Linked DNA regions of Homo sapiens: regions 2, 3 and 4 are each linked to region 1. Evidence: promoter capture Hi-C in human tissues and cell types (Jung and others, 2019). All regions are on one chromosome and are shown on one strand. The core of a region is centred on a gene start or on the middle of the fragment in contact, and the rest is flanking DNA. Distances in the headings are between cores, read along the strand shown. Region 1 holds the start of SDSL (serine dehydratase like). Region 2 has its middle 34 kb from the start of DTX1. Region 3 overlaps LINC01234 (long intergenic non-protein coding RNA 1234). Region 4 has its middle 50 kb from the start of LINC01234.

Region 1 (3,965 bases), core at 915-3,414:
GGTCTGATATTTTATATGTACATACACATACATATGTATACACATATATATATACCTACATACATACACACATCTTTCCTAATGCACACAGAAATAGATTGCCAACTATTAAAAAACCTTTGGGGGCTGGGCGCAGTGGCTGTTGCCTGTAATCCGAGCATTTTGGGAGGCTAAGGTAGGAGGATTGCTTGAGGTCAGGAGTTCAAGATCAGCCTGGGCAGCACAGTGAGACCTCGTTTGTAAAACAAACAAACAAACAAACAAACAAACAAATAAACAGTGTGGGTTACGCTGGACAGCATGCACGTGTTGGTGTACAGTAGACATGCACTAAATGCAGCTAGTCTGCTTCTTGTCAAAGTCTGAGCTGTGTGCTGAGTCTCTGCCTACTTCAAGAAGCCCTCCCTGATCTTGCCCCATCCCCAGCTACCCTATGGGGACTTTCTGCCCTCTGTCATCTTAGGAAGTGTTATTGTTGCTACCGAATTGGGTGTCTTCCTCTCCCCTCCATGCTGGGGGCCACTTCAAGGCACAAACTGGATTTTATCACCTCTGTGTCCCCAGTACCCAGTCCAGGACAAGGCACCCAACAAGGATGGATGTGTGTCTAAAGCGAGGATGGGTAGAAACTTGCCAGAGTCCACATTAAGGATCACGGCCAAGCAGCTCCATCTAACCCCAAGTGGCTGGGAGTTAATCATCAAACCTGGGGAGATCAGAAACAGCCCAAGAAGGACACACAACATCTGTGATGCCAGGTCTTCCTGTTCCCACTTTCCACATAGGGAAACTGAGGCCCAGAGATGGGCACGAGCTGCTCAGGTTCACCCAGTGAGATGGTGCAGAGACAAGACATGAATTTGACCATGTCATTCCCCCCACCTAAAGCCTTCTGTGGCTCCCTAGTGCCCCTGGGTAAGGTCCAAACTCTGGATTGGTACAGGCATCCCTGTGGACTCTGATCTCTGCCCACATCTCCAGCCTCAACCCCACTTGCTTCCCCACCCCTGCCTTCTCCCTCCCAGCCCCACTGGATACTACCCTGACCCTGGAATATATCATGTTTTTCATTTCCAGACCTTTGCACTCCCTGTGCCTGACTCCTGGCTCCACTCAGACTTCCCCTCCTCCAGGAAGCCTCCCCAGCCCCCCAGGGCCAGGCGGGGTGCCTGCTCTGGGTTCCACAGCCCTGCCCCACCCTGCCAGCTGCTAACATCTGATAGCACTAATAAGTGCTCTCTAATGGCCCTCTCTAAGGGCTTTGTGAAGGCAGAGGACATGCTATTTTGTTTGAGGCCAAAGTTCCAGGGATTGGCACATAGTAGGTGTCCAATAAACATTTAATGAATGAATGAATGGTCAGTCATTCATCTGAGTAGCAAATAATTGCTTGGGTTCTCATGCTGCGTGTAAAATATCCGAGACGGAGAGGTGCTTCAGACAAAAATATACCTTTCCCATGTCACAAATAATAATTATAATAATTGTTTCCTTGGCCAGGTGCAGTGGCTCACGCCTGTAATCCCAGCACTTTGGGAGGCAGAGGCAAGCAGATCACCTGAGGACAGGAGTTCGAGACTGGCCTGGCCAACATGGTCAAACCCTGTCCCTACTAAAAATACAAAAATTAGCTGGCGTGGTGGTGGGTGCCTGTAAACCTGGCTACTTGGGAGGCTGAAGTGGGAGAATCGCTTGAATCCAGGAGGCGGAGGTAACAGTGAGCCGAGATCGCACCATTGCACTCCAGCCTGGGGGACAAGAATGAAACTGTGTCTCAAAAAAAAAAAGTTCCCTTGTCCTTGTTTTCCCATCCCAGACCTAAGCTGACCCCAACAGTGGTTCAGCATCCGGGACAATCACTAGACCTAAAATGAGAAGACATGGAGATGCCTGCATCCCGGAAGAGATGGCCCAGGGCCAGGGGTAAAGGCTGTCTCTGCCCCTTGCTGTCTGGGAAGCTTTGGCCAAATAAGTTCCCTTTTCTGAGTTTCAGTTTGCTCATCTGTCAAATGAGACAGGGTGGTGCATGAGTCATAGGCAGTGCCCGGGAAAGCGGTGAGGGTTGCTCTCATCCCCTCTCCTCCTCCGTCTTCACCCGGAGGCTTAGGGTCTGGAGCTTTCTCTTTAACAAAGGAGGAGGGACCAAGGTTGCCGGAAGCTGCCTGAAGCTGGACAGAGCCGGTTCCTGGAAAGAGCTGGTTCCCTGGCAGGCTGGAGGGCAGGAGCTGGGGCCACGCTGGTCTGGGATAGTTGGGCAGGGAGGTAAGGGGTCTGGGGCCAGCTGGGGCCCCTGGGGCTCAGTGTGTGTGTGAATGAGAGGCTGATGAGAGGCTGCAGGAGTTTGGGAGGCTTTGGGCAAAGTCCAAGCTGAGCAGGTGGGAGTGAGAGGGCCTGAGCGTGTTCTAGGCCCTCCTGGGAATGTCGATTGAATTCAGGGTGCCCTGCAGAAGAAAGTGTTGTGCTGGGGACCCTGAAGGGCGAGAGTGGGTTCTGCCTGCCAGAGGGGCAGGGTTGGGCATTCTGCCAGCCAAGGGGCCAGCCCGAGGTGTCCCAGCCCTGGCACCAGGGATTTGGCTGTGGAGTGCCACCAAGGTGGCCTCTGGGGAAAGGCTTTGGGGACAAGTGAGGTGGACAGCACTGGTGGTCCTTACCTCAACTCATAGATGTGACAGGTAAGGCCCAGTGACAAAAGTGACTTGGCCAAGGTTGGCATGACTGGGACCTGAGCCTGAGCCCCCTGCTTTCCCCTGGGTTATTCCACAGCAGGGAGACCCAGGTCCCCCATTTCAGCCCTGGTGGCTGCCATACGGGACAAGAGGTGTGTGTCCCTGGGCCAAGACAGCTCAGTCCCAGACCTCAGGTGCCTGATGGGGTCTGGGGTTGATAAGGCTGTTGGCAACTTGGGGCTTTTTCATTTAACTGATGCCTGCTGTCCTCTTGTGAGTCAGTATAACCAAGAGGGCTGGGGAAGCCTGGAAACTGAGCCAGGAGCATTTGGTTCCAAAGGACAATTGGCAATAAATATTAAATGCATGCAGCTTTCATAATAGTAACGATAACACTAGTATATTAGAGAAAGTATAGCATCGCGGTTAATAGCACAGATGCCAAAGACACTGCCTGGTGTGAATTCTGGCTATGCTGTTTCTAACTGTGTGAACTTGGATAAGTTACTTAATCTCTCTGGACCTCAGGTTCACTGTTTATAAAATGGAGTCAATGGTGAGTTAATGACTCATCTGTTGTGAGCCAACAGGTGGCTCACACCTGTTATCCTAGTGTTTTGAGAGGCAGAGACAAGAGATTTACCTGAGGCCAGGAGTTCAAGACCAGCCTGGACAACTCAGCAAAACTGCATCTCTATAAAAATTAAAATATCAGCCGGATACAGTGGTGCATGTCTACAGTTCCAGCTACTCAGGAAGCTGAGGTGGGAGGATTGCTTGAGCCCGGGACTTCAAGGTTACAGTGAGCCATGATCGTGCCACTGCACTCCAGCCCAGGCAACAGAGTGAGACCTTGTCTCTAAAACAAACACCAAAAAAACAAGAAAGCGGAAGGATTATGGAGTAGGGGGAGTTCATCCTGACAATCCCAGGATCCCCAGGGGAAAAATCTGGGGATTTCACCAAAAAGGAAGAGAGACCCAATTCCAAGTGGACAGACACCCAACATGGGTGCCCTTACCATGCAGGCTCATTGAATCCTCACAATAGTCCTGCCATGTACACGCTCTTCTTGCAGTTTGTTGTGTGGTTGGTTGGTTCTCATTTTTCGGGTCTAATTTTTAATTTTTTATTATTTTTTTTGAGACAGAGTTTCCCTCTTACTCTCTAGGCTGGAGTGCAATGGCGCGATCTCGGCTCACTGCAACCTCGCCTCACCGCAACCTCGCCTCTCAGGTTCAAGCAATTCTCCTGCCTCAGCCTCCCGAGTAGCTGGGATTACAGGCATGCGCCACCATG
Region 2 (3,965 bases), core at 720-3,219, 400 kb before region 1:
CTTTATCATACACCCAATTCCCTTTGTATTGGGCATGTTTTTTAACCTTTTTTTTTTTCCACGGAGACTCATTCTGTCACCCACACCGGAGTGCAGTGGTGCAATCTTGGCTCACTGCAACCTCTGCCTCCCGGGCTCAAGCAATTCTCCTGTCTCAGCCTACCAAGTATCTGGGATTACAGGTGCCCACCACCACCCCCAGCTAATTTTGTATTTTTAGTAGAGACAGGGTTTCATCATGTTGGCCAGGCTGGTCTCGAACTCCTGACCTCAGGTGATCCACCTGCCTCGGCCTCCCAAAGTGCTGGAATTACAGGTGTGGGCCACCACACACAGCTCTGAACCTTCTTTTGTGTCACTCATACATGCACCACCCATTCCTGTACCAGGGTCTTCATGGAAGAAAACTCCAGCTAACTGAACTGTTATCCTGCTATGGAATGTGTCTTTCATACACACACACAGGGACTGACTCATGCTTCCTCTTTACCTGGAATATCTTTACCCCGTATCTTAGCAGACACACTCCCATATCTCAAGCATCATGGCAAACACCACCTCCTCTAAGTCTTTCTTAATCTTCTGAGTGATGTGCACTCTAGGGAAATCTAGCATCTTGGCTTTGGACATATTTCCAAAGCCTATTCCCATGACTATTTCCAAAGACTATGTTGGTCTGTAGGAAGAGAGTTTTGGATCTACCAATAAATCAACTGACATCTCAATGGTTATTGAAGGAGAGTCCATCAGTCTGCAGGTAACCCATGCTAAGATAGAGCTAGAATGAGAACAAGAACTGACAGTTGTATAACTTTGCTGGTTGCTAAAGTATTAAAGTATTGTATGATATGGTGTTTTGGTCCATTCTCACATTGCTATAAATAAATACTTGAGACTGGGCAGTTTATAAAGAAAAGATGCTTAATTGGCTCACAGTTCTGCAAGCTGTACAGGAAGCATGGCAACATCTGCTTCTGGGGAGGCCTCAGGAAGCTTCCAATTATGGTGGAAGGCAAAGGGTGAACAGACAAATCACATGGCGAAAGCAGGAGCAAGAGAATGAGGGCAGGAGGTGCTACACACTTTTAAAGAACCAGATCTCATGAGAACTCATGCACTATTGTGAGAACAGTACCAAGGGGAATGGTGCCAAACCATTCATGGGAAATCCACCTCCATGATCCAATCACTGCCCACCAGGCCCGACCTCCAACATTGGAGATTACATTTCAATGTGAGATTTGGGTGGGAACACACATCCAAACTATCTCATATGCCATGGTGCATTTGCTCTAGGTTTTAAGTTTCTTGAGAGTAGAAATGAAATACGTCTTTGTGGAAGCCAACGCAGCTCCATCTCAGACGCTAATCCACCATATGGGCTTCTGATTAACCCCAGTTCCAAGAAGTCCCCTAAAATTTCCAGTTTATCTATTGTTCCTTGTGGAAGAGCAGGTACTTGCTATAAATCTTGCTCCCAGGTCAAACCACCTTGATGTTTTCTACATCAATTGCCCTAAGCATCCCTTCTGAATCATCCTTTCCTTATGGTATATAAGTCCTGGGTCTGGGAGTAATAGTGAAACTGCCTTTGCAAAAATTCTAACACTGAGAAAATTATGACGGTGAAAGAGATCTGACCTAACCAACTCCATCTTGCCTTTAACCTCCAAGCTTCCCTTCTTCACTCCTGGGAATAGGCTGAACTAAATTTGGGGAGGAATTTAGTTTGGAGTTTAGCTTTAAAACAAAGGTGATAAGACTCCTTCCCCAAAAGAAACCCCCTCCTTGCTTAGAGCTCAAACCACCTCTGTAAAACCAACACATTAACCACAAGATTAGAAATTATAGCTCAGGAGTCACGCAGACAGAGGCCACAAGATTCCTAACCTCCCCAGTTGCTCCTGTGGGTAATGTTACTATTGTAAGACCTAGGACTGGTGTTAGAGATATTTTTCAGCCACTGAATTCTGATGGATCAGTTGGTCCCACCCAGACCAGTAAACTGGCTCATCTGGCCTTATGGCCCCCACCCAGGAACTGATGTGGTACAAGAAGACATCTTCAACTCCCTATGATTTCAGCCCCAAACCCACCAATCAACATTCCTCATTCCCTACCCTTCATCTTCCAAACTATCTTTTTTTTTTTTTTTTGGAGACAGAATCTCACTCTGTTGCCCAGGCTGGAGTGCAGTGGTGCAATCTCAGCTCACTGCAACCTCCGCCTCCCTAGTTCAAGCGATTCTCCTGCCTCAGCCTCCTGAGTAGCTGGGATTACAGGCACGTGCCACCACGCCTGGCTAATTTTTTTATTTTTATTTTTTAGTAGAGATGGGGTTTCACCATGTTGATCAGGCTGGTCTCGAACTCCTGACCTCATGATCCACCCACCTCGGCCTCCCAAAGTGCTGGGATTACAGGCATGAGCCACCGTGCCTGGCCTAAAACCCCTAGCCTCTGAATATTCAGGGAAGCTGATTTAAGTTAACAATAAAACTCCAGTCTCCCATTTAACTGCCTCTATGAGTATTAAACTCTTTATTGCAATTCCCCTGTCTTGATAAGTTGGCTCTATCTAGGCAGTGGGCAGCAAGAACCCACTGGGCAGTCATAATAGCGTGGGGATCCACCATCTGGTCTTCCCACTGCACAAGACACAGACATGGCTTCAGTTTGTAAGACCCTGTTAAGTATTTCTTCCTAAGAAACTTGATTTACCAGCCTCTTTCTTTGGCCTCTCAGCTTCTTCTAACTTTTGAGGGTAGGTTTGTATAGACCTGCCCACTGCAGAACGACCTTGTATTCATGTATTTAGTCACTGACATCCACGGAGATTGGTCAACAGAAGGAACTTGGAATATCCAGTAAACTATAATAATGCTATTTGCCTCCTGTCCCAAAGTGCTAACTGAGAAAAACAACGCCAGATATTTGACTAGGTTTGTTCATCCAAAACACGCCTAGCTGTGATGTGTTTCTTTGCGTGCAATGACCAAGTTGAGTCTTACAAGGTGAAATTTAATGGTGTCTATAATCCCCACTGTTCCAGCTATTCAGAAGTCCCTCTCTGTTTGATGCTTAATAATAATACCGCAAGCAGTTACCATTTCCCAAACTGTCTGTGTGTACCGGACCCCTAGGAGACATTAGTTCCTTTAGTCCTCACAACAGCTCCCTGAGTTTCATACCCCCAGAGCAGAGCTCATAGAGGCCACGGGCATAGACTCTGAAGCAGGGCTGTCCAACAGGACTTTCTGCAATGATGAGAATGTTCCAGATCTACAGTGTCCAACTCCGTACCCAACAGCCACATTGGCTACTGAGCACATGAGATGCATGCCTGAGAAAATGAATTTTAAATTGTATTTAATTTTAATTAATTTAAACTTAAATGGCCTCCAAATCTAAATCCCAGCTCTGTCACTTACTGAGTGGGCTTGGGCAAAGTACTGCACCTCACTAGCCTGGCTTTCCTTTCTGTTAAATGTTATGAACTGAATTGTGTCCCCTCCCCGCAAATTCATATGTAAAAGCCCTAACCCCCAGTACTTTTTTTTTTTTTTGAGACAAAGTCTTGCTCTGTCGCCCAGGTTGGAGTGCAGTGGCACGATCTCAGCTCACAGCAACCTCCTGGGTTCACACAATTCTCCTGCCTCAGCCTCCAAAGCAGCTGGGACTACAGGCATGCACCACCAGGCCCGGTTAATTTTTGTATTTTCAGGAGAGACAGGGTTTCACCATGTTGGCCAGGCTCGTCTTGAACTCCTGGCCTCAGGTGATCCGCCTGCCTCCCAAAGTGCTGAGATTACAGGCATGAGCCACCGCACCTGCCCACCCCCTGCCCAACCCAGTACTTTAGAAAGTGATTATTTTTTGGAGATAGGGCCTTTAAAGAGATAATTAAGATTACAGCAATTAAGGTGATTAAGGTTTACAAGGTCATTAAGTAGTGATGATAAAGGA
Region 3 (3,965 bases), core at 490-2,989, 320 kb after region 1:
TTTCTGACTTTACAATGGTGTGAGAGTGATATGCATTCAGCAGAAAACATACTTACAGTACCCATACAACCATTCAATTTTTTACTTTAAGTACAGTATTCAATATATAAGAAGAAGCTGGGCACAGTGGTTCACGCCTGTAATCCCAGCACTTTGGGAGGCCAAGGTGGGAGGATCACTTGAGGCCAGGAGTTCAAGACCACCCTGGGAAACAGTACCTCGTCTCTACAAAAATAAAAATTAAAAGATTAGCCAGGTGTGGTGGCACGCACTTGTATCCTAGCTACTCAGGAGGCTGAGGTGGGAGGATGGCCTGAGCCCAGGAGTTCAGGGTTGCAGTGAGCTATGATCATGCCACTGCACTCCAGCCTGAGTAACAGAGCAGCCTGTTACTCAGAAAAAAAAAAATTAAAATTAAGAGATGAGATATTCAGTGCTTTGTTAGAAAATAGGTTTTGTGTTAGACGATTTTTTTTCAACTGTAGGCTAGTGTAAGTGTTTTGAGGATGTTTAAGGTATGCTAGGCTAAGCTCTGATGTTTGGTAGGTTAGAGGTATTAAATGCATTTTCAACTTAAAGATCTTTTCAACTGAACGAAGGGTTTATCAGGACATAACCCTATTGTGAGTTGAGGAGCATCCGTACTGTTTTTTCCTATACACACATGCCTGTGGTAAAGCTTAATTTATAAATTAGGCACAATAAGAGACTAACAACAATAACGAATAAAATACAACAATTGTAACAATATACTGCGATAAAAGATACGTGAATGCGGCCTCTCACTTTCTCAGAATATCTTAGCGTACTGTATTGTACCATGGGTAAAGGGGACTACTGAACATGCTAGCTATTGGTTTTACTTTCCTCGATGCTGCAGTTCTTTGGGAGCTTGAGGTTTCACCTGCAAAATGGGGATAATAGCAGTTTATCTACCTAATAGGTGAGGATTAAAAGAGATAATGTAGGGAGATAATGTATATTCAGGGCAACTTGAATCTATGTTCCTGGGCAAAAACATTATTTTTAATAAGACAGATAATGTATGCAAAATGCCGTCTTAGTCCATTTTCTGCCGCTATAACAGAATACCACAGACTGGGTAATTTATAAGGAAAAGACATGTATTTCTCAGTTCTGGAGGCCGGAAGTCCAATAGCAAGGTGCCAGCATCTGGTGAGGGGCTTCTTGCTGTGTTATCCCATGGTGAAAGGAGGAAGCACAAGCTAACATGAGAGACAGACAGCAAGAGAAAAGGGGGGTCCACTACTGCGATAAGGGTATTAATCCATTCACGAGGGCAGAGTTCTCATGACCTGATCATCTCTTAAAGTTCTCACCTTGCAACACTGTTGCAATGGCAATTAAATTTTAGCATGAGCTTTGGAGGGGACATTCAAACCACAGCAAATGCTTATCTCAGGTGTGGTGCTTAGCAGGCACACAATATACTCGTAGTGATGATTATCTGTTCACGCAAGCTTGTGTTGGAATAATTAAGGTATTTGACTTCTCCGTCCTCCAGAGGAGGTTCATAGTGACATACATGGTAACAAATATGTATCATAGGTGCTGTAACTACATAAAACAAAGGCACATGGGTCTGGGCAGCTAGGATAGATAATTCCAGCCTCATCTACATCTACTCTTCACGCAGAGGAGACATCCTGGCACCTCCATGCCTTTGTGCTGGTAGGATTTTCCTCGCTGTATTCATTTCCTAGGGCTGTCATGACGGAATGTTACACACTAGGTACCTTAAAATAACAGATGTTTATCATTTCACTGTTCTGAAGGCCACAAGTCCAAAATCAAGGTGTTGGCAGAGTTGATTCCTTCTGGAGGCTCTAGTAGAGAATCAGTTCTCTGCTGTCTCTCTTTTCAATTTCTTTTCTCATTTCTCTTATTTCTATATGCATTAAGACTCAATCTGGCTTAATGCCAAAGGGTATTTATGAACTCAAGTAACTGCAAAGTCCAGGAGATCGTGGTGGCTTCAGGTGCAGCTGGACCCAGGGGCTCAAATGATATTTTCAGGCATCTGCTCTCCCACCATCTCTTGGCTCTGCTCTTCCCTTATTGGCTTTATTATCAGGCAGGCTCTTCTATCACGGATGCACATATTATCAGTAGCCCAGCAGAAAGAGAGTGCCCCTTTCAGAATAGTTCCAGGCAAAGCCCTGCATGTCACTCCCTTGGTCTGGCTTGAGTCACAGGTCCAGAGTTGAACCAATCACTGTGCATTTGGTTGTCCAGGCTTGAGACCTTCACTCATTTATAACTGGGGGAAGGAGGTAGTGCCTTCAAAGGGAAATGGTTTGAAGTTTCTATACAAAGGGGGAAGGTATGATGAGCTTGCCAAAATACTGACTATTCTCCCCACTCTCCTTCCTTTCCTCTGATTCCACCTCAAATGCTGAGCTGGACTCATGATGTGTGCAGAGACCCTGAGTCCTGGGTGTTCTCCAAGAGCACATGCTAAGTGGTGGGTGGGGTGAGAAGAGACAAGCGTTTGAAAGGTGAGATGTCAGGGCAGAAGAAGACCACTCAGCACCAAGAGTTTCTTTTCAGGGAATAAAAATGTTGAGACTTGAGGCCATCATGTCCACTGCCTTAGTAGTATAAATGGAGAAACTGAGACCGAGGAGGTGAAGGGACTTGCTTGGGGTACCCTGTGAGTCAGTGGCAGAGCAAGAAGCAAAACATTCATCTCAGATTCCTGGGCTGGTCTTCATTCCCCCACACACTTGCATGGTCAGATGGGTGGTTGTTTTGTGGGATGTAGCTACCTGCTTGCAGGAGACTCTGGAGATGGTGCCCAAGAAGAGATGCCATTTTGGATGGACACTGAAGGATGAGTAAGCTTTTGCCAGGGTAGAAGGAATGGAACCCATACATCCAAATCCATACATCCTTCCATTCTCCCTCCTTCTCTTCCTTCCTTTCTCTCCCTCTCTCTTTCATTTGATTCTCCCTCCAGCCCTCCCTCTGGTGTGACTTCGGAGGGAGTGATCCTGGCTAGCACCTGGGAAGAGAGGGAAGAATTTGTTACAGCATCCAGGACTGAACCCATGAGAGCCTGAAATGGAGGGGTAGTGGTGAGACCAGAAGTCATAGCGTTCAAAAGCTTCCCAAGAAATGCAGGTGTCCAAGCATGGAGGGTGCAGCTTCCCATGAACAAAAACAAAACAAAACAACAGCCTCAAAACCAGGAACTGTACCTCCCTTGCCCAGAGTGGCCACTAAAAAAATTAATTTTATTGTGGTAATCATTTTGCAGTGTATTCATATGTCGAATAATCACATTGGACATCTTGAATATATGCCATTTTAACTTTTCAATTATACCTCAATAAAACTGGAAAATAAGTAAATAAAATAATGAAAGACAAAAATTCCAATTCACCAGTGAGTTCAGGCGCAGTTCCCTGGGGATAGCAAAGCTTGTGTGTTACAAATGCTTAAGGAACAAAAGGGAAACCTCGGAGTTGGAGAAAACCATTTAAAGCTACATGCCAGCCTCTACTTTCCCTCTGTCCAACCCCACACAATTTATAACCCCAGTCTCCCTGGCAATTAGCCCAGATCTCCCTCCACGGGGAGGGGTAGTTAGAGCTGGTCATGTGACCACGGGGTCACATGGCCCAGAGCTGGGCAGAAGCAGTCCAGGTCGTCAAAGTGCTCCATGTGCTTTGCTCTGTGGGGCTGATTTGTTGCCCCTTCTGTCCCAGCTTGGCCTGCTTGGAGGAACACCTGCGTATTGGGGTCTGCCTCTGCACTTCCCAGCCTGGTTTGCCTTCTCCTGTGCTAGAGGGGAATGACTGGGAGAAGAAGCTGGGGTGGTAGGCTTTGTGTCCTTGGCAAGTCCTTTATCCTAAAAATGGAGGCTCCTAAGTGAGCCTTAGTCCTCTCCTAAGTGAGCCTAAGTGAATTATCTCCTAAGTAAGCCTTAGTCATTTTCTAAG
Region 4 (3,965 bases), core at 613-3,112, 300 kb after region 1:
AGCCTGGGCTGGGCTTTGCAGTCTCCTGTTTCTCCCTTTCTCCCCGATAGGTGCATTGGGGTCTGCCTGGCTTTCTCTCTGGGTGGGGGCTTTCCTCCCAGCCCCAGGCTCCAGGGGCCTCTCACCCCCATTACCCTCCCCCAAGGCCACCCTTCTCTCTGTGCCCACCCAAGCCAGCAAGGTTGAATTCCTTCCCTATGCCCCTCTCTCCTCCTTTTCTCAGGACACTGCCCACTCAGCTCCCCCTCTCAGAACATTCCTGATGTCCAGGGTGTGGCCTGGCTCAAAGAAGGTGTTCCAAAAAAAAAAAAAAAAAAAGCTGGAGTGCAGTGGTGCGATCTCGGCTCACTGCAACCTCCACCTCCCAGGATCAAGTGATTCTCCTGCCTCAGCTTCCCGAGTAGCTGGAACTACAGGCATGCACCACCACACCTGGCTAATTTTTATATTTTAAGTAGAGATGGGGTTTTGCCATGTTAGCCAGGCTGGTCTTGAATTCCTGACCTCAGGTGATCCGCCCAACGCAGCCTCCCAAAGTGCTGGGATTACAGGCATGAGCCACCACACCCAGCCAGCTGAATATTATTAATATGGGGCCGGGGGCAGTGGCTCATGCCTGTGGTCCCAGCTGAGGCAGGAGGTTTGCTCAAGCCGAGGAATTCGAGGCTTCAGTGAGCTATGATTACACCAGCGCACTCCAGCGCACTTAGTGGTCCCAGCTATTTGGCAAGCTGAGGCAGGAGGATCACTTGAGCTTCAGAAGTTCAAGACTACAGTGAGCTATGATTGCATCACTGTGCTCCAGCCTGGGTGACAGAGCAAGACCCTAAAAAAAAAAAAAAAATCAGCAATGACTTGAGGTGAGGGTCACTATGTCAGGCTAATTTTTTAAATGTTTTCATAGAAATGGGTCTCCCTCTGTTGCCCAGTCTGATCTCAAACTCCTGGCCTCAAATGATCCTCCTACCTTGGGCTCCCAAAGCTTGGGATTACAGGCATAAGCCACTGCCCATGGCCAGTTTGTTTGTTTGTTTGTTTTTAAATTAAGTTAAGGCCAGGCACAGTGGCTCATGCCTATAATCTCAGTGCTTTTAGAGGCTGAGGCATGAGGATCACTTGAGCCCAGGAGGTGGAGTCTGCAGTGAGCTATGATTGCACCATTGCACTCCAGCCCGGGTGACAGAGTGAGACCCTGTCTCTAAGAAAAAAAAAATGAGATCAGCCTTGGAGGGTCCTTTAGATATTCATTCATTCATTTATTCCTCCAATCACTATTGCCCGAGCATCTACTGTGGGCCAGCCAATGTTCTAGGTGCTGGGGACCCTGTGATGAACAAACCCGACAAACACTCTGCCCTTAAGAAGCTCACCTTCTCATGGGTGAAAGGCTGAGAGCAAACAAACAATAAGTAGATACTATACTATTTCAGAAGGTAGTGGGCAGGGGGTGGTTACAGCAGGACAGGGGTCAGGGAGTACCAGGGGAAGGTTGGGTGCATTTTTAGGTAAGGTGGCCAGGGTAGCCTCATAGAGAGAACATGTTTTTAGCAACGACTTGAAAAGGGTGAGGAAGTTTGCTATGGGGATATAACAGGGAAAGAAATGCAGGCAGAAGCAAACAGCCAGTGCAAAGGCCCTGCGGTGGGCAGCCAGGGGCTGGGGTAGAGGGAGGGAGGAGTGCGCAGCAGGGGTTGGGGTGGCCAGAGGGGCTGGCAGCAGATCATGTAGGCCTTGTCTGACATGGAGAAGACTTCGGCTGTTTCTCTGAGGGAGATGGGAGCCATGGGAGGATATTGAGCACAGGAGGCACTGATTTATTTGTCTAACAGGATTCCTCTGGGGGTTGTGGGGAGGTGGACTGTAGGGGGCCAGGGTGGTGACAGAGACCAGAGAGGAGCTACTGCAGTAGTCCGAGCGGGAGATGATGGTGGCTTGCACCACACGGTGGCATGGTGGAGTGGATGGAATTGGATCTGTTCTGAATTTTTCACTCCCTCACTCATTCATTCATTCCATTATCCATCCAACCCATAATTTTTTTTTTTTTTTTTTTGAGACAGGGTCTCACTCTCTCACCCAGGCTGGAGTGCAGTGGCACAATCTCGGCTCACTGCAACCTCTGCCTCCCCACCCTCCCCGCTCAGCCTCCCGAGTAGTTGGGACTACAGGCATGCACCACCACACCTGGCTATTTTTTTTTTATTTTTAGTAGAGATGGGGTTTTGCCATGTTGCCCAGGCAGGCCTGAAACTATCCACCCTCCTAAGCCTCCCAAAGTGCTGGGATGACAGGTGTGAGCCATGGCACTTGGTCCAACCCATAAATATCTATTGGGACCCTCCTATGTGGCAGACAGGAGGGGTACAAAAAACAGTATGCAAAAGAGACCTAGACCCTGCCCAAATAGAGCTGAGGTTTAGTGGAGAGACAGATACTCATCCAATAAGCATGAAATCAACATATCGTTACACACTGCAATAAGTGTCAGGAAGGGGAGGGCCAGGGGGCTACCAGAAGACTGTCACAGCCACAGGCCCCAGCCCAGGGACCTTCTAGCTCAAGCCCCTCATCACGCATGTGGAGAAACCGAGGCACACAGAGGGAGCATGACTGGCTCAAGGTCACACAGCAGGTCCTTGGCAGAGCTAGAGAAAGAACTCCGCCCCCTGCCTCCCAGCAGGTGGCTGTCAGCACCATCACCGCTTCCAGAGCTCAGGCCTCCCCCGCCCCCACCGCAGCCACCCGTGGTTTATGGCCCCCGGAAGCCCCTCCGAAGTGTCTCATCAGCGAGGCCCCGGGCCACGGGAGATGGGCTCGTCCCAGCTCGGGCCAGGCAGCCGCCGATCGATTGCGCGTGTGCCGCCCCGATACTCCATCTCATTAGGCCTTCGTTTTCATCTCCCGGCTTCCTGGCAGCCTTCAAATTATCCCATAAAATTTATTTACTATTTCATGAATACATAAGCAGCAGGCAGGCACAAGCTTTTTATATATTTACACTGTATATATTTCACGGGAGACTTATAGCTGTCTCTAAGGCAGAGCGGGGAGAGGGAGAGAGACTGAGCAGACGGAGCCGGCAGCTGGTGGCAGAGGGAGGAGACAGGAGGGAGGCGCGTGGAGGGCAGGCGGGGACGAGGGGCCCACGGTGCCCACGGCGGCACTGGGCCACACTGGGCTGACCTGACACTGCTGGGCAAGGGATCGGGGAAGGCTCCACTTTGGGACACGCATGTCATGTCAGTGAGGCAGGGCTCCTGGGCTCTGAGGTGTGGGGCTGAGGTTGATGCTGCAGGTCAGTGGTGCTGGGTGTGAGGCTCCAACCTTACAACAGTCTAGTATGGAGGTACTGATGGGTCATAGGGGATCCTCATGCTGGTGGAGAGCTGGACCCTCATTCTGGACCCAGAGTAAGCCCTGACTCTTGCTCCAGACTAAGCCCTGATCTCAGTTACAGACTGAGTCCTAATCCCAAGCACAGACTGAGCCCTGATCCCAGTCACAGAGTGAACCCTGATCCCAGTCACAGACTGAGCCCTGATCCCAAGTCATAGACTGATCCCTGACCATTGTTTTAGCCTGAGTCTTGAGCACAATCACAGAGTATCCCAGTTACAATGTGAGCCCTAATCTTAGTCCCAGCATGACTCTTGACCCTAATCCCAGACTAAGCCCCAACTCCGGTCAAAGATTGAGTCCTGACCCGAGTCACACACTGAAGCCTGATCCTTGCTCCAGACTGAGCCCTAACCCTGGTACAGACTGAGCCCTGACCCTAATCCCAGACTAAAGCCCTATTCTAGTCATAGACTGAACCCTGATCCTAGCTGTAGGCTGATCCCTAACCCTATTACCCATACCCATGACTCCTCACCCCAGCCTGCCATCTCTCAAGGTTTCACTCATGTACACAAGCCACAAGCAGCCTCTTCTCCTCCCTGTGAATCTGCATGGGGACTGTGTGT

Evidence for each region. Contacts are between HindIII fragments. The study calls those that stand out against the background at their distance.
Region 2: a contact is called between a fragment that was not itself captured here and the fragment with the promoter of SDSL in region 1, in 1 of the 25 tissues and cell types used here (IMR-90 fibroblasts).
Region 3: a fragment that was not itself captured here is called in contact with the fragment with the promoter of SDSL in region 1 in 4 of the 25 tissues and cell types used here (H1 embryonic stem cells, bladder, mesendoderm cells and 1 more).
Region 4: a contact is called between a fragment that was not itself captured here and the fragment with the promoter of SDSL in region 1, in 1 of the 25 tissues and cell types used here (H1 embryonic stem cells).

The regions. Positions count from the first base shown.
Region 1 is chr12:113,420,216-113,424,180 of GRCh38, forward strand. It overlaps SDSL (serine dehydratase like), which reads left to right and starts at 2,165. Exons shown (of 8, transcript NM_001304993.2): 1 at 2,165-2,262. The HindIII fragment of the contact is 24,154 bases long and covers 134-3,965 here.
Region 2 is chr12:113,021,202-113,025,166 of GRCh38, forward strand. No RefSeq gene overlaps it. Among named protein-coding and RNA genes, the nearest start is that of DTX1, 34 kb to the right of the region's middle. The HindIII fragment of the contact is 4,003 bases long and covers 1-3,965 here.
Region 3 is chr12:113,743,571-113,747,535 of GRCh38, forward strand. It overlaps LINC01234 (long intergenic non-protein coding RNA 1234), which reads right to left. Exons shown (of 3, transcript NR_110026.1): 3 at 1,007-3,025. Among named protein-coding and RNA genes, the nearest start is that of LINC01234, 28 kb to the right of the region's middle. The HindIII fragment of the contact is 3,092 bases long and covers 194-3,285 here.
Region 4 is chr12:113,722,170-113,726,134 of GRCh38, forward strand. No RefSeq gene overlaps it. Among named protein-coding and RNA genes, the nearest start is that of LINC01234, 50 kb to the right of the region's middle. The HindIII fragment of the contact is 5,093 bases long and covers 1-3,965 here.